Regions from separate parts of the Homo sapiens genome. Here all the other regions are linked to region 2. The links are contacts of gene promoters, found by promoter capture Hi-C in blood cells and fetal thymus (Javierre and others, 2016). All regions are on one chromosome and are shown on one strand. The core of a region is centred on a gene start or on the middle of the fragment in contact, and the rest is flanking DNA. Distances in the headings are between cores, read along the strand shown.

What was found. The method cuts DNA at HindIII sites, captures the fragments that hold promoters and counts their contacts. A CHiCAGO score of 5 or more calls a contact.
Region 1: a contact is called between a fragment that was not itself captured here and the fragment with the promoter of DCAF11 in region 2, in 1 of 17 cell types (fetal thymus). The highest score is 6.2, in fetal thymus.
Region 3: a fragment that was not itself captured here is called in contact with the fragment with the promoter of DCAF11 in region 2 in 1 of 17 cell types (naive B cells); the score reaches 5.5 in naive B cells.
Region 4: a fragment that was not itself captured here is called in contact with the fragment with the promoter of DCAF11 in region 2 in 2 of 17 cell types (non-activated CD4 T cells and activated CD4 T cells); the score reaches 7.5 in non-activated CD4 T cells.

The regions. Positions count from the first base shown.
Region 1 is chr14:22,586,965-22,592,078 of GRCh38, forward strand. DAD1 (defender against cell death 1) reads right to left here and starts at 2,260. Exons shown (of 3, transcript NM_001344.4): 1 at 1,983-2,260. The coding sequence starts at 2,193. RefSeq lists enhancers at 1,257-1,898, 1,899-2,540. The HindIII fragment of the contact is 675 bases long and covers 1,151-1,825 here.
Region 2 is chr14:24,113,489-24,119,204 of GRCh38, forward strand. It overlaps DCAF11 (DDB1 and CUL4 associated factor 11), which reads left to right and starts at 1,289. Exons shown (of 15, transcript NM_025230.5): 1 at 1,289-1,805; 2 at 1,894-2,261; 3 at 3,429-3,556; 4 at 3,778-3,905; 5 at 4,180-4,244; 6 at 4,567-4,667; 7 at 4,900-5,046; 8 at 5,262-5,316; 9 at 5,657-5,716. The coding sequence starts at 2,107. NRL (neural retina leucine zipper) reads right to left here and starts at 1,461. Exons shown (of 3, transcript NM_001354768.3): 1 at 1,234-1,461. RefSeq lists enhancers at 542-1,257, 839-978, 1,219-1,368. The HindIII fragment of the contact is 1,852 bases long and covers 697-2,548 here.
Region 3 is chr14:23,061,875-23,067,679 of GRCh38, forward strand. It overlaps ACIN1 (apoptotic chromatin condensation inducer 1), which reads right to left. Exons shown (of 19, transcript NM_001386863.1): 10 at 4,092-4,134; 11 at 2,481-2,614; 12 at 2,231-2,383; 13 at 1,562-1,703; 14 at 1,055-1,200; 15 at 542-649; 16 at 294-401. Among named protein-coding and RNA genes, the nearest start is that of CDH24, 7.3 kb to the left of the region's middle. RefSeq lists an enhancer at 1-961. The HindIII fragment of the contact is 5,796 bases long and covers 1,485-5,805 here.
Region 4 is chr14:23,005,350-23,011,049 of GRCh38, forward strand. It overlaps C14orf93 (chromosome 14 open reading frame 93), which reads right to left and starts at 4,794. Exons shown (of 7, transcript NM_021944.4): 1 at 4,752-4,794. LOC124903286 (a long non-coding RNA gene) reads left to right here. Exons shown (of 2, transcript XR_007064075.1): 2 at 1,219-3,635. RefSeq lists enhancers at 1,292-1,661, 2,595-3,155 and silencers at 1,822-1,871, 4,783-5,132. The HindIII fragment of the contact is 3,706 bases long and covers 1-3,429 here.

The DNA.
Region 1 (5,114 bases), core at 238-2,737, 1.5 Mb before region 2:
TAATCCCCCTTATTGGCCCCATTACTAATATGCCCTTTTACTAGGTTTTTCTTCAATGACAAGCCACCTAGTTCCCACTGGAGAGGAGAAAGGCAGTCCAGTCTGCCAATTCAATTTCAGCCACAACGGGCTCAAAAACAGGTCTTGGCATAAGTGAAAGTCATTTGCTCAAAAAAACCTTCTGGCTTTATTACACTGATAATCTATAACTCTAGTCCATGCCCACTCTTCAGCAAACCACATTCTTCAAAGCATCCATGAAAAATCATTCTAGACCCTAGAGGCTTATGAAGGCAGGGTGACTTCTACATGGAGAAGGCATCTTTTTTAAAATCAGCTTTCAGACCCTGCCTTGCTCCTACTCTTCCAGACCTGGAAACAAAAACATCAAACAAAATTAAATCAAAAGTTCTCATCAAGGTTCCTTCTCCGGGCTGGCTAATAAAAACATATAGTACCGTGGCAGAGGGCGGTGGGTGGGTGGTGGAGAATACTTAGAGCAAAGGGGTAGTGTATCTGGTCGGATGATGGTTAACACATCCTGAAGGCAAGGACGCCACCACAGACAACTAGGTCTTGGTCATCTAGGACAAAAGTCAAAGATGGTAACTAAATATCCAATCAAAAGGCTAATCTGCAACTTCAGTACACAAGTCATTAGATCCTCAGACCTGTTTTAAATTCTAAGAAATATCTCTGGTGTGTCAGAACAATGTAAATGTACAATAAGCATTCTATAGGTCTGTAACTTTAAGCACAGCACCACTGTCACCAGACTTTTTTTTTTTTTTTTTGAGGCTGAGCCTCACTCTCACCCAAGCTGAAGTGCAATGGCACGATCTCGGCTCACTACAACCTCCACCTCCCGGGTTCAAGCGATTCTGCCTCAGCCTCCCGAGTAGCTGGGATTACAGGTGTGTGCCACCATGCCTGGCTAATTTATGTATTTTCAGTAGAGATGGGGTTTCACCATGTTGGCCAGGCTGGTCTTGAACTCCTGACCTCAAGTGATCTGCCTACCTCGGCCTCCCAAAGTACTGGGATTACAGGCATGAGCCACTGTGCCAGGCCTCCAGACAATTCCAATGCTGTATTTTGTCTGTACCCCAACTAGACCATAAACTCTTTACGGATAAAGAACATGTGCCAAAGCTTTTACCATAATGCCTCATATTGGACTGAAAATACAACTGATGACCTGACTGATGATCACACTGAAAAGAAACCATGAATGCTGGCATGTTTTCAAAGTCAAAGTAGCAGGTGATACCAGTGATAGAGGCCACGCCTGTTTTCAGTATTCACTGAATCCCCGTTGGGCAAGAAAAGTCAGATTTTAACAAAAATTGATGGAGACTGTTCTCGCTAAATATAGCAGTCTACAAGGTTACCAAATCCTGGAATCAAAAGGAAAAATAAGGCTAAAATAGAGTTATGTGAACAAAAATTGGGTTCAGGACAGTGAAATAACAGCTTCCTCAACAAGAAAAAAAGTAGTAGCAGCTAAAAGGCAAAATCAAGTAAAGGATGATTCAACAAGAAAAGCACCAGTATTTATATTCTTTGCACTTTCATTGAAACGTTTCACCGGAGATTGGTAATGATTAGGCCAAGATGACAGAGATGATTCAAGGTTGGGTTTTTCATTTGAAAAGTCTACTAATTTTAGAGTTGTGTTAAACCTAAGTTAAAGTTGGAATAGGGTTTTCCCCGGACCAATATTAAGTGAAGTGGATCACCAAGTGGAGTAGCGGCACGAAGGTGGTTTCTTTAGACTTTTAAGTCCAACTCCTACGGAGCCGTTTGGTATTAGGCATATAATCTAAGCTTTCTGAGCCTCAATTTCCCCATTCACAACAAAAGGGCAATGCAGGCTCTTCTCATAACTTCAAGGGGCGGTGGTCTGATATAGAGTACTATGAAAACAAAAGCAGCACACCAAAGTAACACATTATTATTATGATCACTTATAGAACCATTACCCGCTAGGATGAAACTCCCCACACAAGAGATGAAGCCCGAGAGAAAAGAGTTGAAGGGGAAGGTCCCCACGAGGAGACAGTAACCGAACTGCAGCGCCCCGGTCAGCAGTATATACAGCAGGTACGCGTCCAGCAACTTCAGACGCTGCGGAGTGGAGCTCAAGTACTCTTCTAAGAACCGCGAAATGACAGACACTACCGACGCCGACATAACTGCACGCAAGGTACTCCGGTCCGCGCCCCAAACTCTTGGAGGACCCGTCGACCACACCGGATGTGCTGTTTGCGCATGCGCACCCTCGTGACCTAACTCCGCCCTCCCCGGTGTGCCAATTTGCGCAGGCGCTGAGGCCGGCCAGGGCGCGTAACAACTAATGCGCAGACGCGGACTGCATCAACAGACTCAACTACAACTCAGAAAAGTTAATGCGTCTGCGCAATGGCCCTATCAATGAGCTGGGGACGTGTACTCTTTCTGTTCTGTTTCCGCCCGTCAGCTCGGTGACGCCCACAGTTGCTCTGGCAACAAGACACACTGGGAGGAAGAGGGGAATAAGCTTTACTGGGGACCGCGTAGCTAACCAGAGGTATCCGGCTCTCTCTGGTCCTTCTGAGTCCTGGAAGATTTAACGGTTTGCATCTACTTTGAGGCAATGCCTGGCGTTCCTGGGGTTTGATACCAGCCTGACCCTAATTCTGTTAAGGGCGCTGTCTGCAGATGTCTGTCACAGATCATTGGAACAAGTCAAGTTCATCCGCAGTGAGACCCGGCGCGGCCAATCACTGCACAGGCCCCAGTTTAGACTTAATTACTTGGGGGAGTGAGTGGGTGTGGTGAGGGGCGGGAGGCAGGGAGGAAGCCTGACCTCAGCAGGGTTCTGAACTGGAACTCGGGATCTGGCCCTGCAATGCCAACATTTATTGGGCGCCTCCTTGGGGCCTGACGTTGTACTAACTTGTAGGGACTCTCACGTGAATCAGATATATTTGCAGCCTTAAAAGAGCTGGTGAAGGGAGGGACAGCTGTCGAATGTCGTGCAAAAAGCATATGGTCAAGTTTAGCAGCTCTCTTTCCGCAAGCTGGTATCTTGAACCTGGTGTAATATCCCGGGATGTCAGCGTCGAAAGGCCCGAAAGAGCATGCCTGGTTCAACCCTACTCTCTCCAACTCATTTTGCAGAAGAAACTGAAATGGTTTCAGGTTTTGTATTTTAACAAGTGGGATTATTTTGAGGGTTTTAACTGTTTTTTTTTTTTTTTTTGAGACGGAGCCTTGCTCTGTCGGCCAGGCTGGAGTGCAGTGTCGCGATCTCGGCCCACTGCAACCTCCGCCTCCCTAGTAGCTGGGACTACAGGCACGCGCCACCACGCCCGGCTAATTTTTGTATTTTCAGTAGAGACGGAGTTTCACCATTGTTAGCCAGGCTGGTCCCGAACTCCTGACCTTGTGATCCGCCAGCCTCGGCCTCCCAAAGTGCTGGGATTACAGGCATGAGCCACTGCACCCGGCCTGTTTTAACTTTTTTTAAGAAATTAAGTTCTGGCTTTCGTTGCCCTTTTAATTTCACGTGAATCCGACCTTCTAGACCCAGTTCATCTCACCTTTTAGCTGTAAGTTTTTCCACACATGACCAGGTACTTTATTTTCAGCTTCTTAATATTTTGAACTGTACGTGAGCAAAATTCCTAAAACAGCAGGTGAACAACAGCGTTCCTGCCTTTTCACTTTTTTTTTTTTTTTTTTTTGAGATGAAGTTTTGCTCTTGTCACCCAGGCTGGAGTGCAGTGAATGGTGCGATCTCGGCTCACTGCAACCTCCACCTCCTGGGTTCAAGCCATTCTCCTGCCTCAGCCTCCCGAGTAGCTGGGATTAGAGGCACCTGCCACCACGCCCGGCTAATTTTTGTATTTTTAGTAGAAACGGGGTTTCGCCATGTTGGCCAAGCTGATCTTGAACTCCTGACCTCAGGTGATCTGCCTGCTTCAGCCTCCCAAAGTGCTGGGATTATAGGAGTGAGCCACTGCGCCGGCCCCTTTTCACTTTTTATTTGCCTTTAGACTGGAAACTCTACACGCATTAACTAACGGATGTATTATCAGTGGTGATCAAAGCCTTACTTAAGTTCTAGAAAGAAGAGAAATAACCTAAGAAACCTTTAGAGTCTATTTGAATAGATAGATTTATATTCATACCCGTGGAGATTTGTGCAGCTATATGAACATAAGTTCAGCCTAAACCTATGTTGCTGAGAAAGAAAAAAAAAGAGTGGATAACAAGCTGGTTCTTATTTCAATATAATATGGCAGGAAGCATCAATTTCTCTGACAAGTTGAACCTTTCTCTCTGCCTCATCAACAAGTAGGAGGGTAGCTTCCTCACGAATATTCAACTTCAAACTTTACAGGCTAGGCTGATGCTTTTTAATCATTCAGGTGTGGATTCTTCAGGGAGTTTCTGTTCCATCAGCCAGGCTCCTTCCAGTGTTTTCTCCCTTATGTTTTGTCTGCCTTTGATCCATGTCAACTATCATCATTAAGATCTCCCCAGGAACTCTCACAGGAGAGAAGAAGAGATGAAAAACACCAAATGGACTTATTGAATGCATTTGTTTCTGAGACCTGCTAGTCACACCAATATACTACACTAGGGCTTTTCTGAACTACTTAAAACAGCAAGAAAAGGCCTACTTCTCTATTCGGTTTATGATTCTATAATCATTGAAACATTTTTAACTGATCTGTCAATAGGAAATTGCTAACACTAGTGTTGATTTCAATTAGTTTAAATCAGAATATTAATATAGTTTAAAATTCTTGTCCAGAGTAGTGGATAAGAGTGCAAGCTCTAGAATCAGACAGTCCTAGGTTTGAACCTTGATTCTGCTGTTTACTAGTTGTCTAATCTGGAACAAGTTACTCAGTCTGACAGTCTCATTTTCCTTTTCTATAAAACAGAAATAACAATACCTGGCTCATTGAAATTATGTGAGGATTAAATGAGATAATGTTAAGCATTAAGCTGTTAGCATAGTGTTTGGCAGACAGTAAATGTTCAGTAAATGTTTGCTCTTATTAACTATCATTAATCCTAGTAATTAACCATGTCTGCTTCTCCTAGTTCTCTGAATGATT
Region 2 (5,716 bases), core at 39-2,538:
AGTCTCAATAAACGTTAAAGCACAGATAGTAAGTAATCTGGCAATAGAGGATGGGCGCCCAGCAGACCGCCTACATAATCAGTGGAGCCGAGTGCAAGATGAAAATACCAGGCACTTGCTTTAAAATTACTAATAATTTCAAGACCGTTAACACTAGAACATTAAACCAAACATTCAGGACCCTTCTAAGCGCAGAGGCCATCAAAGCTAGCCCTGGTGACAAGCTCAGGTCTCCGGATCTAGAGACTAGGAGACGTCGCCCGAAAGCTGGCCAAACCCTCGCCCTCACTGGGAGAGGCCCCAGGAGGGCCCAAGAAGGCCACGAGCCCTCGCTCCCATCCCTGCCCTCAGGAGCGGGCGGAGGGAAGCTCGCAGCTTTCCCAAGGAAGTGCAGGCTGCAGGGAATGAAGTTCAGCTCGGACCCTGAGCCTCTGAGCCCGAGACAGCAAGGTCATTCAACCCACACGTCCCCACCCAGCCAGGGCGAGGATCAGAGATGTGGCAACTCCCGGCCTTGGACTCAGGCTTGTTACTCATAAACCCGCAGGAGGGGGCAGGAGGGGGCAGGAGGCGGCGAGCGCGCACCCTGGACCCGCGGCCGGGGGCGGAGAGGCACCGCGAGGACAGAGGGACTAGCGAAGGTCTGCAAATCCCGGAGGGCCAAGGGAGCGTCAAAGGGGACAGCGGAACCGGAAAAGCTTTGACAGAAAGACGCGTGTATTAGGGAACGTCTGCAAAGACCGCGGCGGAAAGCCAGGGATTGTCTTAAAAAATTGTCAGACCGGATAAAGGGAGGTCTAAAAGGGGACCGTCCCAAGAGCAAGGCTTCCAAAAGCTAAGCCCGGAAGGACGGTATGGAGGTCTACTGGGACGCTGGGCACCCCTTAGGGCAGAACCGACTGGAGCTGCGGCCAGCGACAGAAGAACGGCTCCAGCTGGACAGGGGAAGCAGTGGGGAGAAAGGAGGCCCTTGGGCACTGTCTGAAAAGTGCGATGCCAAATGATCTTTAGGGACAGACAGTAAATTATATCCCTTGCTAAAATACCTCTCGGTAGCGAACCACCAAACGTTTCTTTTTTAAGCCCCGCCTCTCAGCCGTTACGCCTAGTTCGGCTGTCTCTGATTCAGGAAGCTGGCAGTTCCCACTTACTCCTCCCCAGCAAGAGCTAACAGCCCTCCTTGGGTGTGCACTTTCTCCTCCCCTCAGGCACCTCGCGCATTCTCCCGCCTACCTATCAATCATCGTGCTCCGCTGTCCAGTTGGCTGGCCAAGGGGGCGGGGCCGTCGTGTGACGTTTGCAGCCCGCCGGCCAGGAAGCCGCGAGATGCGTGACGAGCGAAGCGCGTGACGGAGGAGCGGTTGGCCAACGCAGTGGCGGCAGTCGGTGTAAACAAGGCCTCGCGCCGCTGCGGGTCCTGCGACCGCTCCTGGCTGGTGGGTGGTCTCGCGTGGGGCGGTTACCGCCGGCTTCAGTGGGAGGTGCTTCTCGGCTTCCTCCCCCTCATGGCGTACACACCCCCGGCGCACCACGTGGGCGTGAGGCGAGGAAGGAGGGGTGTTAGGCCAAATTCTATTTTCATTGGCTGTCACTGCTGCCGGCCTTTGTAAGGGGGCGCTCTGATTGGTCGATAAGGTGGGGGCGTCGAGGGTCTTTGAGTCCTAAGGCTTCTAATTGGTTAGATGAGATAAGCTAGTGAAGCGCTTTCTTCCGAGAGGGATTTCGATTGGTCGGTCAGAGAGGTTACCTGGAAATCCAACACCGCCCAACACCCCTCCCGCTCCCCAGTCCGGGGACTTCGATAGGTGAGTTTGGTGTAGAAAACAAATCTTTCTTCAGTTGGTGAGCTAGGGTAGCGCACTACGGTTCACTCTTGCTTTCTTTGCTTCACAGGATTGGAGAAGGTTTGTGTTCCCGACGCCTTGGTAGTTGGCATAGGCTAAAGAAAAGGGATCTCAGCCCCGAGGAAGGGTCACCCTCCTAGAGATAGCTACTACCCCGTCTCAGGAGACCCTGGTATTTCTAGAGCACGCTTTGCTTTCACCAAACCCAAGGAGGTGACAGGAGGAGCCCCCGCACAGGACCTAAGAATGCTGTGACCAGAAGATGGGATCGCGGAACAGCAGCAGTGCAGGATCCGGGTCCGGAGACCCCTCCGAGGGCTTGCCCCGAAGAGGGGCTGGCCTGCGTCGGAGTGAGGAAGAGGAAGAAGAGGATGAAGATGTGGATCTGGCCCAGGTACTGGCCTATCTCCTCCGCAGGTAACTTACCCTCTGGTGTGACCCCCAGCAGGTGCTACCACAGTGCCTTGATCCCAACTCCAGGCAGGAAAATTACAGAGGTTAGGAAATGGGATTCGCTCAGGACAGCTGTTCTGTTTGAGCTGAACAGCCTTTCCCTGCTGGGCACCCATGGCACTCAGCTCCATACCCAGTAAGAGTGGTTCTTACCTAGGGAGGGTCACCAAGAGGACCTGCTCATGTGTTTGAGGGGCTATTCAAGGGAGCCTGTCTCTGTGACTACACAAATATAGTCTATTTTCCAAGTAAGCTTGAAAAAAAAAAGGGGGGGGTCCTAGTGGGAAAGGAGTGATGTAAGGGGTGAAGAGATGGGAAGGGAGTGTTGAACTTTTTAGTAAGGCAGTTGACACATGATATGAGGCCACTTCGATTTACTTGAAAAACAAGTTTAATTTGCCCTGACTCTAACCTGTTCTTGAGGAAAGAATGCCTTGAAGGGAGAGACCACCTGGAATTGACTGGAAAAGGGTGCAGCTGGCTTTCTTTCTTTGCTTATGGCTCTTTGAGGAGAAGATGGGTTTGGGGGTCCCTTCAGAATATTGTATTCTTTTTTGTTTGTGTTTTGTGTTGTTTTTAGTAGACATAGACAGGGCTCACTGTGTTCCCCAGTCTGGAGAACGGGCTATTCACAGGTGTGATCAAGTGCACACCACAGCCTGCAACTCCTGGGCTCAAGCAATCCTTGCCTCCCAGGTAGCTAAGACTACAGTTGCACACACCACCGCACCCAGCTTAGAATATTGTCTTCTGTGGTGGACTTCTCAGGCAGAGGCTCAGAAGGAAATGCTGTGAGGATGTTTAGCTTGTTGGGAGGTCAACTTAGTAGGTCATGTCCACAGCGTATTGGTCTTGCTCTTGTTCTAAGGAAATGATGTTAGAATGTTTAGCTCGCTGGGAGGTCAACTTAGTAGGTCACGTCCACAGCATGTTGGTCTTGCTCTTGCTGTAAGAGTAAAACTCTCTTTCCTACTGTGTTTTATAGGAGACCAAAAATAACAGCCAAGGTCTAGTCAGCCTCAAACCTCAAAATGAGTACCAAGTGGTCTAAGAGCTAGATAGCCATTGACTCTGAATTTGGTTGGTTTGGGGGAAGAAGTCCCCTCCTTTATAATGGGGGTCTCTCCACAGAGGCCAAGTGAGGTTGGTGCAGGGAGGAGGTGCAGCAAATTTACAATTCATTCAGGCCCTCTTGGACTCAGAGGAAGAGAATGACAGAGCTTGGGATGGTCGTCTTGGGGATCGATACAACCCACCTGGTAAGAGGAAAAGCCCCTAATGTTGGAAGACTTTTACTAGAAAACCTTTTAGTGATATTTTGAATGATAGGTTACATTGAAAGAAGGTACGATAATTTAAGGAATAAGGAGTCCTTACAGCCCCAGTATATTCAGCCACAGGGGTGGGCTTGGGTACAGTTCTGCTAACTGTCCTCTGAGGCTGGCAGACCTAGGATGAAACTTCTCCTTGGTACTCACAGTGGATGCTACCCCTGACACCCGGGAGCTGGAATTCAATGAGATCAAGACACAAGTGGAACTGGCCACAGGGCAGCTGGGGCTTAGGCGGGCCGCCCAGAAGCACAGCTTTCCTCGAATGTTGCACCAGGTAGGCCTCTCCACCTCCCAGCCTGGCAGCAGGCCTGCCAAAGCAGCCAGAAGCTCTGCCAGCCCCAGAGAAAAAGGAAGTCAACTTTCCAAAGTAGAAGCCTCAAGCGCTGGGGCTGGAGAGTTAACCAGCCTCCATCGGAGTTCTGTGGGACAGACTATGATGTGTGTGTCCATTTCTATAACAAGAGCAATATCTTTGGAGGAGGGGGCTTGATATGGCTGAAGTGGCCCTCTATTTCTGCTAGCAATATTCCCCAATCCCTTCCATTTAGAGAGAACGGGGCCTCTGCCATCGGGGAAGCTTCTCCCTTGGAGAACAGTCTCGAGTGATATCTCAGTGAGTATGGGGCTTGGTGAAGAGACTCTAAGGGCCAGATAGGTCTTATCTCCTAAACTTTGAAGGGGTAGGTGTTAAAGGAGCCTCAGAGATATTAAAGGTTAGGTTAAATGGGGTTGAAACTTTGAGAGTAAACAAAGTAGAAAAGTGTAGAAAATTGTAGAAATTTAGAGGATGGTGGAATGGTTGAAAGACGGGATTGCACTCACAGCCAAAAGGGAAGAATGACTGTTCTGATATTCCAGCTCTGTTAGGATTCTGCTGATTGGGACACTCCTTATCCTGAGCACCCCTCACCCTCACTTTCTCTCTCCTTCCCTAGCTTCTTGCCCAATGATCTGGGCTTCACTGATAGCTACTCTCAGAAGGCTTTCTGTGGCATCTACAGCAAAGATGGTCAAATATTCATGTCTGCTTGCCAAGGTACCAGACCCTGGTCCTATAAACTATCTTTTCCTGGAACATGGGACATTCCCCCTGACTGAGGCTAGAAAGCCACAGACGGGGAGCTCAGACCTGGCTTAAGGATGCTTAGCCAGACCATGTTTCCCATGATAAAGGGAAGACTCCACAGGTACACTGAGTGGGAGATGTCTAATCTAGAAAAGTTACAAGGAAACTGTCCCATAATTCTGCCTGATCTTTACTTACACAGACCAGACAATCCGACTCTATGACTGCCGATATGGCCGTTTCCGTAAATTCAAGAGCATCAAGGCCCGCGACGTAGGCTGGAGCGTCTTGGATGTGGCCTTCACCCCTGATGGGAACCACTTCCTCTACTCTAGCTGGTCTGATTACAGTGAGTATGCACCAGGCTTCCACTGACTCTCCAGCCTGGGACCTGAGGTTTCCATGTGCCTGTCCCCTCTGAGCCAGGATCCCTCACTTTGTCCTGGGAAAATCACTCCCAAAGTGCTCCAGTACCCTTGTCCCCTGTTTGATCTCTTCCCTAGCTTCACTTCCACTCTTCTTCCCCCATCCCTGAAAGATTCTTGTTTTTCTTGCTTCTCTTAGTTCATATCTGCAATATCTATGGTGAGGGAGATACACACACTGCCCTGGATCTCAGGTACTGGCTTCCCTTTCTGGTCAGACTCATCAGAAACTTCTCAAGGGAAGCTCTTTGGGAGCAAACCTCTTGAGTTGGAAGTTCTGTTTAGGGGAAAAAGTATACTGGTGGGTCTGTGTGCATTCCTGGGAGGGAAGCACCATCTTGTCAGCCAGAGGACTGGGTAAAATAGATGGTTGCAGGATGATTTCTGGGTTCTCACTGAGCATCTGCATTATGGTGCATGTTAGCCAGACTTCTTTTTTCCCCTGGGGATGTGCCTTACAACCGTTGTCAGATTTTATGTAGATTAACAAAAGCTGAAGGAAGTCCACTTAACCCAGCTCCTTCTTGCTTTTAGGCCAGATGAGCGTCGCTTTGCTGTCTTCTCCATTGCTGTCTCCTCAGATGGACGAGAAGT
Region 3 (5,805 bases), core at 3,133-5,632, 1.0 Mb before region 2:
GAGGCAGGAGAATGGCGTGAACCCGGAAGGCGGAGCTTGCAGTGAGCTGAGATCGCGCCACTGCACTCCAGCCTGGGAGACAGCGAGACTCTGTCTCAAAAAAAAAAAAAAAAAAAAAAGGAGCCCAGGTACCACTTTGAAGCCCCATGGTACAATTAAAGGAACCAAAGCCAGGGAAGAAGAGAAAAGAACAGAAGCTCAGAGACTGCAGGTCTGGCAAGGATCTCAGCTGAAATCTAGCAGATAATGGCTTCCCCTGCCCCTCCTCTCTTTCCTCTCCCTAGGTTTCTTACCTCATCTTGCTCGGCATAGTCAGCACAAAGGAATTTGGGATTGGACTGGGGCCATTTGACCCCGTGCAGAGCTGTGCGGGTGGCAACAGCTTCCTCTACTGTTGAGTACTGGTGGAGGAAGGGAGAAGATGGAGGGTCACAGTGTGTCTGCAACCCTTCCCACGTGCTGCAACACCCTTAAACCTGCCCACACTGGTCACAAAAGGAAATATATGCCATGACCTATAGAATCAGCTTCTTCCCCTCACCGTTACAAAGCAATGAGATTTGATCTTGTCAATCCAGAAGGCCTCTTCCACCAAGGTTCCTGTGCGCCCCAACAACTCCTTTAGCTGGCCTAAAGTGAAAGGACGGACCTGCCAATGAAAATAGACTTTCAGGGTCTAGCAGAAGGCAAGACCACCACCCAATCTTTAGATTTCCCGAGCTGCTGTCACAGGAGTATAGTTTCAAGGTTTGGGGGAGGGCAGAGAGTTTAGGAACCTTGCAGTAAGAATGTGAGAAGAGTGGTGGTGCTTCCCAGCACTAATTGAGACGTTGTATGTGAGGCCTTCTGCAAGTCCTCAAAACAACCCTGCAGGGCAACAGCTTTTCCCCCTCATTTTTAGATGGGTAAATATGTTAAGTAACTCACTCAAGATCAGTGAGTAACTTAATCTATTGGTAGACCAGTTCAACTATGAGTGGAACCTAGGAGGCATAAGCCTAAAGCTCAAACTTAACCACTAAGCAAGCTGGGATGGTGAGAAACAATGACTTACCAAATTGGAGATATGGACAATGTTGCTAATCTTGCCCCGGGGTGGGGAGGGCACCTGGGCAGTTCGGACTGGGTCATCAATGGTAATGGAAACTCCGGACTTCTGCTGGCTAATGGAACGTCGAGTTAAGGTATCTCCTAAAGTCACTATCAAGAAGACCACAAGAACAGCTTTTGGTAGGAAGCAATACTGGCTCTTTTCACCCTCAATGTAACTCTCACGGTTCCCTTTCTTTTATACCAAGCAGCCACTCCTTAATCTAAACGTGCAGAGCACCTATAATCTGCAAAGTACTGTGCTAGGCTAACCTCCTCATCATGGAGATTCAAAGATTAAACAGAGTCAAATCTGGCCCTCAAGTAGCTTACTTAATATGTAGGAGAAAGATATGATATACGAAAAAATATAATGAAAGGCAGGAAACATTCAAAGCTTTCAGCGATCCAAATGAGGTGCTCTGAGAATTCAGGGAGCCGCATTACATTTCTCTCACAATATGTCACTCACCTTTCTTTACTTCATGCTCTGCAGGTGGGGGCAAGGCCACCTCTACTGACACCTGGGGAGGTACAGGAGGTTCTGCTTCAGGTTCCTTCTCTTCTTCCTCTTCTTCCCTCTGCCCATTCTCCTGGCCCTCTGCAGGTACTACCTATCAAGGTGTCAGAGAACACAGCAGGTCTGTTAAACACCAAACTGGCATATTCTTTTCAGCCTCTGGTTCCCCGGTAAGAGTAGCAGTCAATCTAGCATGTTCCTTCCGCTAGGGGTATTTCGTTATCGGCTCACTTCTACCAGATCCTGGGATTGTTAGTGCCTCAACTTTGCCTTGAGGAAAACTAAGACAGGAGTTAGTAAATTTTTTCTGTAGAGCAAAGCAGTACTTCAGGTTTTGCAGGCCACATAGTTTGTTGCAACTACTCAACTCTGGTGATGTTGTAGTGAACAAACAGCCACAGACAAAAGTGAATGAACTCGTGTGGTTGTGTTCCAATCAAACTTTATTTGTAACAGGTAGCCAGCTGGATTTGGTAGTCTGACCCCTGAAAGTGTCAGTCAACCCAACCCTCTGCACAGACAGGGAAGTTCCCTCCAAAGACTTTATCTCAGCTCCTCAGCTAGCTGCTCTGCATCTACTGCTCCCACCTTTCCCCTGACACTGGGGTGCAGAAGCCTTACCTGAGTGACTGTCCGGCATATTTTCAGCCCCTTGTCATGGGTCCCATCATCGCCATTACGCTCTGTCTCATCCTCAGAGATGCGAGAGTCATCAGCATGAAGATCCACAACAGCCTCCTGCCCCGCCAGGGGTTTGATGTCGGGGATGAGGCTCTGGGACACAGATACCCCCCACCCCGTTACACTGGGCCCATGTCTACTCCCACCTTAACAGGTCTCATCCTCCCTTCCCTGGCTCCTCCCACCTCACCTTTAGTGATTCAGTGGTGATACTGATGGAAGGTTTCTTCTGTGTGGTGGCTGTGCTGGCTCCCCAGCGTCGTTTCCGACCAGGCTGGCCCCCCTCTGTGTCACTGTTTCCAGCTGGCACCCCCTTGGTAGCTGCTGTCCCCAAGAAATAGACCCAACAGTTAGATGGTCTCAGGACCTCTGCTAGTTCAAACCGTAATACCTACAGGTTACCTCTGGCTGGAGTTTTGGTAAAAGGTTAACTTAAAGAAATCATATTTGGAGGCTGAGTGTGGTGGCTCACACCTGTAATCCCAGCACTTTGGGAGGCCAAGGCGGGTGGATCACGAGGTCAGGAGTTTGAGACTAGCCTGACCAACATGGTGAAACCCCATCTCTACTAAAAATACAAAAATTAGCCAGGCGTTGTGGTGCATGCCTGTAATCCCAGCTACTCAGGGTGCTGAAGCAGAATTGCTTGAACCCGGGAGGCGGAGGCTGCAGTGAGCCAAGATGGTGCCACTGACTGCACTCCAGCCTGGTGACAGAGCAAGACTCCGTCTCAAAAAAAAAAAAAGAAAAGAAATCATATTTGGGAACTGGGGAAACCATGGCTTCAGACTGAACACTGATCTAAAAGCAGTAAGGGAGGGGTAGCTAGTTTGATGAGCCGTTTAAACTTTTAATGGTAGACAGTAATATCAAGTAGTGTGGAAGAAAAACTGAGAAGGACATGTAAATGCAGAAGAAACAAGAACACTATGTGATACTAACATCTAGGCAGAACTAAGATCATGATGGGATCTGGTCTTCCTTTAATTTTCACACTACAGATTGATATTTAAGTTATAAACATCTATTATACTTTTGTAATCTAGAGTTCCTCATTGGGGAAAATGTTAAAATTGTTACTGTTTGAGGTGTGGGGCACTTTCATTTCCTTGGGTGCTCTCTTAGAATAACGCATAAACAAGGTCAGGCACGATGGCTCACGCCTGTAATCCCAACACTTTGGGAGGCCAAGGCAGGCGGATCACAAGGTCAGGAGTTCAAGACCAGCCTGTCCAACATGGGGAAACCCCATCTCTACTAAAAATACAAAAATTAGCTGGGCATGGTGGCGCATGCCTCTAATCCCAGCTACTCAGGAGGCGGAGGAGGATTGCTTGAACTGGGACCCGGAGGCGGAGGTTGCAGTGAGCCAAAATCGCACCACTGCACTCCAGCCTAGGGTACTACAGAGGGAGACTCCGTCTCAAAAAAACAACAACAAAATACCCAGAATAATTCATAAACTGCTAAGCATCACATAGGAGTCCCTGAAACTCATTCCTTGTTGAGTATTCAGGTATCTGAAAGAATAAATGCCTCTAAGGCTAAATGGGACATGGTCTCAGACACCTCACACTGTATCTCATTAAAATGTGACTGGAGCAATATGATGGGGATTGTCTCAAGTTTTGAATTCCAAAATGAAACCCTACATAGGAAAGGATTCAGATTTGCTAGGCACAAGGGGTGGGGCAGGAGGGAGTGACCCAAGAATGCCATTGAGAATGAAATTCTGGTTCTCAATGAATGCTGGTTTTTATGGTATTCCTGACTTTTATCAGGGATTTGGGGCTGGACTTACAGACAACGGAGATCTTCCTCTTGAATGATTTGGGCAGCGAGCTCTGTATGAAGAAGAAAAAGGGGAAAAAAAAGAGAAAGAGAGACACCCCACAGAGAGGGGGGAAGGAGGTTAGATGGGGCAGTCTTAGCTTAGCCTCCAAAGACACAGATAGAGTGAGAGAGAGAGACAGAGAGAGACACAGAGACAGACAGAGACCAAAACAGAAGCGGCAAACGGCAAAAACGAAGCAGAATCAATGCAAGTTAGAGAAAAAAATAAAACTAAACATCAGAGCAGGGAAAAGTCATCTACTCCGTATCACACCTGTGTATTAGCTTAACCAGAAATAAGCTGGAAGAGGAGTTCAGTAGCCTCTCAGCCCCCTAAAGATGTTGGTCATACCCCCTCTTTCACCGTCTGAGTCGAGAGGACACCAAGCCAAACAAACTGTGCCCCAAACTGGGTCATCTAGTCCTCCCAGGTCCTTCCTTGCTAACTCGAGGAAACAAGGAAAACCAACTTTGGATGGCAACTTCAACAAGGTAACCCTCCTTTCTTCAATGGCCAGACTGATGCCCACTGACAATGGCTTTGAGATGCTTGGACAGCAGACTGTCATGTCAAGACTGCCCAGACCCCCACCACACTGTGGAAAAGGGCAGCACCAGACCCACTGGAGATGAGGCTCTTGAGCCAAGTGCTAGCAAAAAGAACTCAAAGGTGTCTTTGATAAAGGAAGGTTTTTATGAAGGGCAGATTGTCCCCAAGGAGATCCTTAGACTTTCCAGCCACCGCAGGGAGCTCCAGCAGAGTCTTACTGTTTCCTCTCCAACCAGGGCTCAAGCCTTAGGGGCTCTGCCAAAGACCAGAAGACATCTTTGGGACAAGTCTCTACCCCAAACACTCAGTGGGTGAATGACGAAAGACTATGGGGGGCGGGGGAGAAAAGTGAGAGAGAAAAAGGGAATAGAGTATTTTCAAGTGTAGGTGCTTATTTCTGGAAAAACTAAGACCACTCTACCACTCTTCTAAAGGGTAGGGCAGAAACCTCGTGATGAAATCCCTTTCCCATCCACCCCCACCCGCAGCCCCGTTTGTGTCGTCTAACCAAGTCTCCTTGGTCTCTGTTAAGGGCCAGCCTGACCCCTAGCTGGGCCGCTCTCGATGGGTAAGTTAGTGAGAAAAACAAAACAAAAAAAAAGGTCTTAATTAAAACAGGAAAAACATGAACCAAATAAATAAATAAAAGAAATCAGAAAAAATAAAGATATAGAAAAAAATAAAATAAAATATTAAAAAAAGAAGAAGAAAATAAAGAAGAAAATAAACTAGGAATATGACAAATGTTCCAGGTACCATCTCACACCTGGGATCTTCAGTTCAGCCAATCGCACCTCACTGTGTACTGTATCTAGTCAACCGCCGGTCCAATCAGAATGAGCCCTCCCTGCTAGGCGCTGTGCAATTGGTGGGGGGTTGGGTTGGCAAAAAAGGTGGGCGCACGGCGTGGTAGTCAGCACGGCACTGCCAGAGTCCTCCCAGGGGCGCAGGGGGGGCGGGAGGGAAACGTGTGGGGGGACGCTGCCCAGTTTCCATGATGTCAAGACAGTTCACTGGCGGTGGCCAGGCTCAGCGAGGGATAGAGGGGGGAAAGGGGCAGAGACATCAGTCCTGGCCCTGAAGGGACATCATCTTGCAGTCCCTGATGAGATGGCCTGTGAGTAGCAGGAAT
Region 4 (5,700 bases), core at 327-2,826, 1.1 Mb before region 2:
CCATGGCTGGGCATGGTGGCTCATGCCTGTAATCCCAGCACTTTGGGAGGAGGAGGATCGCTTGAGCCCAGGAGTTTGAGACCAACCTCGGCAGCATAGCAAGACCCAGTCTCTAAAAAATAAATAAATAAAAAGAGGAGACACCAGTATATTAGAGAAGAAGTGTATTTATTTAACATTTTAAATTTCAAATGATGGCAACATGTTTAAGTAGAAAGTCCTGAAAACAACTGACTAGGTCTAAAAAAGAGAAAAAGATCTTCAATCTTGGGATGCGTTGCCAACACAACATGACAGTAGATGTCACACTTAGGTTTGCAAAAAATATAAGCATTTGGGGTTCATTTCAGTATTGGTCTAATTTAAATAAATGTGAAACGAGCCTTAAAAATGTACTTTCCAGTACTTTTGGTATTTTTCATAAATATTTAGATAAAAAAGAAAGACAATTCATCTCCTTTAGACAGACAGTTCAGGGTAAGACTGTCCATAATTTTAACTATCCCTTTCCTCCCAAGTCACATTTTTGTTAGGACTAAATATATCATACTCTTGGCAGTTCCCTTGCTTGCTTTCTCCCCATTCTGAGTTTGAATTTTCTGCATGACTGAGTTCACCTCCAAACTATGAAAAATAAAAGTTTTCTCACTATTTAATAGATGTGTATGATATGGTATCACTCAGATGATATATGTTTTTATAATGGGTGCTTGACTCATTCAGGGTCATGCTAGCAATAGACTTCCTTAAATGTGATTACTGAAAGCATGGCAATTCATATCATAATCTTCATTTTAAGAAATAAATAAGGAAAACGGCCACTTAAAGCTCCTGCTGTGTTGGTCAGTCCTACTCCTCCACTTCAAGGTGCAAAATGGCTCACCTGTCAAAAGGTTCTCTCAAAACCTATTTTTATCAGAAATGAGCTCCTTATCACACAAGAGCAGCTAAGTAAATACCACAAAATACTATTTTCCCACATTTTAAAAGAGTGACTCGACTAATGGTCTGCAAAAAATCCAAGACCTTATTTTTAGGGGTAAAAAAGAGAGCTGTAGACCCAGAAGGCCGAATGCGGTCTTTAAAGGATTCCACGTAATCTGAAAATTCCACGTATATTTCTATAGCAGGATGAGAATTTTTAGCCCAGTATAGCACAGTCCTTTTTATTTACATTTGCTAAGATTACATTGGTAAGATTAATATTTCCGATTTCAGGTTTGCCTAAAGGACCCACTGCATTTATGGAGAAACTGAAAAATGAAAAAGTAGCTCCTAGAACTCGTGCCAGCGAGAACTTGGTAAATGTTAGTTGATTAAATATTAGTCAAGGATGACAAGGTGGACCCCAGGGAGGGCAGAACCGTTTCCGATGGGTCAGTGTGATTCAGCTACGGGAAAGGCGATCGCAGCGACGCGGGAAGCAGAGATCGGCGACTGCTCAAGAGGCCTCAGGGGACAGGGTGACTCGCCACTGTGCCCTACCATACAGTGCGCTCTGGGAGTCCCGGGTAAAGGGGGTCATTCCCGCGAGGGATGCGGAGAGCAGAGCGGCCGGAGGAGCGGCTAGGGATCTCGCCGGGTCACCGGGGAGGGTAGACTACGTAGCCCCGAGAGCTTTGAGAACTTGGGCTGAAGGCGGCGCTCGCCGTGAGAACTGACGCGGAGGTGCAGCTTTGCAGCCCTACAGATGTTCTACCGCGTGTGCCTGGCGCTACCGCACGGGCTGACTCAGCTAGGCAGAGGCGGAGGCGGGCGCGCGGGAGACAGAACTATCCGCGGCGCCTGCCCGTGTACCCGGCTACCGCGCGCACGCGGGGAGACACCGCCCCGTTTGCCTTCTGGCTCCCGGTGATTGGCGGTTAGACGATGGCTGGGGAGCAGGGTCACGGACACTATTGGCTGCAAACAACAGTCACTCAAAAAGTCAGGTAGGGGAGGGGCCTCCTCAGGGAGGGACAAGACTGTGAGGCTTTTTCAAGGCCGTCAGACGCCATCTTTAGCTTGTTTTTGTTTACTTGCTTTTGTTCTCTGCTGCTCACAAACCTGTGTGTACACGATTATAAGCACAGTGGCCACAAATCGGCGTCACACGTTGGGTGGTGGCCGACTTTTAGTTACTGCTGGCCTCGGTTACATTTCTTTCACATGTCACCTGCAAATTAGCAGCTCCTCACAGTTCAAAGAAGTTTCCAATACTAGGGGCCCCGAGGATTCCCAGGCAAAATCAACAGAGTTTAGTTTTGCTTTGCTTTGGAAGGCCAAGCCAACGATATATATGTGCGAGGAATTCTCTCCTTTCTTAGGAAGAAAAAGCAAGAACAGTGGATATGACCCTACGTTCCTGGATGTAGAAATCAAATAGCCTAGGAAATCAGGGATACGGGCTCTGCACTGTTCAGGGAGAGCTCTCCCTATTTTTTGAGACGCTAAAAAGTAAGGTAAAAAGTATATGTGATGACCTGTAGTGATGTGGAAAAGAGCTAAAAAGGGTAAAACTCCATTAAAAATTCCCGTAACTGGCCGGGCGCGGTGGCTCACGCCTGTAATCCCAGCACTTTGAGAGGCAGAGGCGGGCGGATCACCTAAAGTCAGGAGTTGGAGACCAGCCTGACCAACATGGTGAAACCCCGTCTCTACTAAAAATACAAAAATCAGCCCGGCATGGTGGCACATGCCTGTAATCCCAGCTACTCGGGAGGCCGAGACAGGAGAATCGCTTGAACCCAGGAGGCGAAGGTTGCAGTGAGCCAAGATCGCACCATTGCCACTGCAGCCTGGGCAACAAGAGCGAAACTCCGTTTCAAAAAAAAAAAAAAAAAAAAAAAAAACTCCCATCACTGTTGTGATCACAAAGATCACTAAAATGTGACTAGATTTCAAAGAAATGCAGGTCTGAAATTGTGGAATAATCCACAGTCGAGCCAGTATTTATTAAGCACTGGTCTGACTTGAATTGTTAGAGAATAAAAATACACTCAGCACAAGTAAGAAACCCAGAAAGCCCAAACAGGGCCACTTTTGTTATAAATTTGTACAAGTAACTTTATTGCAGTCAGTATTTAGGAGTCAAATACTGCTTGAAATAGAGTAGGATGCTAGCTGTGTAATAGAAATGCATTATTATACAGAAGTTTTGTTGTAATGAAATTTAAATTCTACAGTAGATTTTTTTTTTTGTCTCCTGGTTGTCACTGCATTTGTGACATTCCAGTTTCTCCCTCAGCACCTCATATACCTCCTATGCTTTCACTCCAATCTGCGAATACAAATTTGGATACAGATATTTTCCATACAACTTCTAATGAGGAGATAGTGATTCTGTAACAGAATGAAGTGAAAATAGGGCTCCTATAACAGGAGGTTCTGCTCTGCGAGCCTGTTTTTCTCTAATTCATATACTTTTTTCTGTGACTCTTAGAAATGAGAAGCTTTCCATTCTAAAAATGCAACATGATAACCAAAAGGCATTTCTTATCCCTTCTATTATTTGCCTTTGCATCCTCTTGGCTCCCCATCACCATCACCATGAACAGTTTTTGAGAATTACACTTGACTGGATTTTTTTCCTGATACTTTGCCAGCTGTGGAGCTTTTCGAATATTCCAACCAATAAACGACCATTTTGTCAAAAAGCCAAGAAAGAACTTCCCTTCTGAACACACCAACCAAACCACACATAAAGGCCAAAATATACACAGCTGTACACTTAAGAACGTGAGACAATAAAAAGCAAAACCACTTAGGCAAAACAGTCACTGAAGGCTTTGAACCACAGATTCAATAAATTGCCTACTCTCATTTGCCACATGGACTATATACTCCTTGGCAATTATTTAATTATTCATTATTCTGATCCTTTAGGAGCAGAAAAATATAGTAAATGCACATAGAAAGTGCCTAAGTATGCTAAGCATAGGATTTCTTCTAAGCTCTGCTTTGCACACAAAATATTTTGATCACATTTGGGAAGACAACGGAAAAAAATTCACATCCTAGGGGATACTTTGCACACATAAAACCAGATATATTTATCACTTTTGAAAATAAAATCTGATATGGCACATATACACACATATTGTACATATACACAAATAACCCCAAGTTATAACTTTACAAATTTGTTTCAAGAAACACACACACACACACACAAATGTTCTAATGAAAATGTGTGTGAAAGACACACTGTAATTAAGGTCTTTCCCCCTTCCCTAGGGAAATGAATGTCTCCATTATAATATCCCAATATTAACTTATTGGCCTTGGACAAGTGCCACATCCCAGCCACTTGGTTTTGGTTCTGGGGGGGTGGGTGTGTAAAAAGCACGCAAACGGCTTTATGAGGGAGCCTCAAATCTCTCTGCTTCCTTCGATGTTGCCTGTGGCAGAAATTTACATTATCCCTTCAGCCCGCTTAAAAAATTCTGTACTTCCCAAGCGGCTAAATTTTTAAAGTCCCTCAACCACAAAAATCTACCAGTTCTTAAAATGTGATTTAAAAAAAAGAAAAAAAAACTATAAATTTGGCCGGAAACGGTTGTACACGGCCATCCTGCTTCTCAACTTCTTGGTATATTTAAAACCTTGACCAGGAAAAAGAAAGAGGAAGAGAGACAGAAAAAGAAATGGGGGAAAGAGCAAATTCCCCTTAGCAACAGTTTCCTCACCCCAACACTGCTACAGATCTCTATTTTTAAAAAATTTGAAAACACACACAAGATTAAGGAGGAAAAAAAATGGAAAAAGGATACCCGAAGGTCGTATGGCTCTTTGTATTCGTGTGTGTGCAAAAAGGAGGACTCGCGGAGCCCGAGCCGGCAAGCCCCGCCCCTCCCCGGACGCCCTCCCGGATTGGCCGTCCGCGGCCGCGGGGCGCCCCGCCCGCAAGCACACGCGCCGCGCCCGAGGCGCCAACCCCGGAGTTGGGGGCGGGGGGGGCCCTGAGGGCCGCCGGACCCCCGACCCCCAACCTCGCCTGGACCTTGGCAGACCCCTTTCCCACCTCTCTCCCTTTCACTTTCTCACCGTCCTGTCACCCTTTCCCATCTTTTTTTCTCAGTGAAACAAGGCCCAGTCACCAGCATAACAATCCAGTGAGCGACCTCCGGACACTTTGTTAAATTGAGTGAACTAGTCAGTAACATTCTAGACTGCAATTAAACATCAGGGACTTGGTGCGTGGGCCCTACTCCGGTTTCCAGGTGAAATGTCTCTGGGTCACGTGTGTTGCTTAACACCCCCACGTTTAAATGAACATTCACGTATGGAACATCTTTCTGAAGTCTTACACTTCAGCCCGAGCTCCCAGTTTATCTACCTGGCTCAGACCACATTCTCAAAACTAAAGTGGCTCCTCTTTATTTCCAGGAAGACAGCTGGTATACCTGGATTTTAAGCCACCCATAATCTGGTCCCACCCACCTATTTGTTATTTATTTATTTATTTAGACAGAGTCTCGCTCTGTCACCCAGGCTGGAGTGCAGTGGTATGATCTTCGCTCACTGTAAACTCCGCCCCTCCGCCCCCACCCCCACCCCCACCCCCACCCCGCCCAAGCGATTCTCCTGCCTCAGCCTCCCAAGAAGCTGGGACTACAGGCGTGCGCCACTGCACCCAGCTAATTTTTTTTGTTTTTGGTAGAGACAGGGTTTCGCCATGTTGGCCAGGCTGGTCCTGAACTCCTGACTTGAGGTGATGTG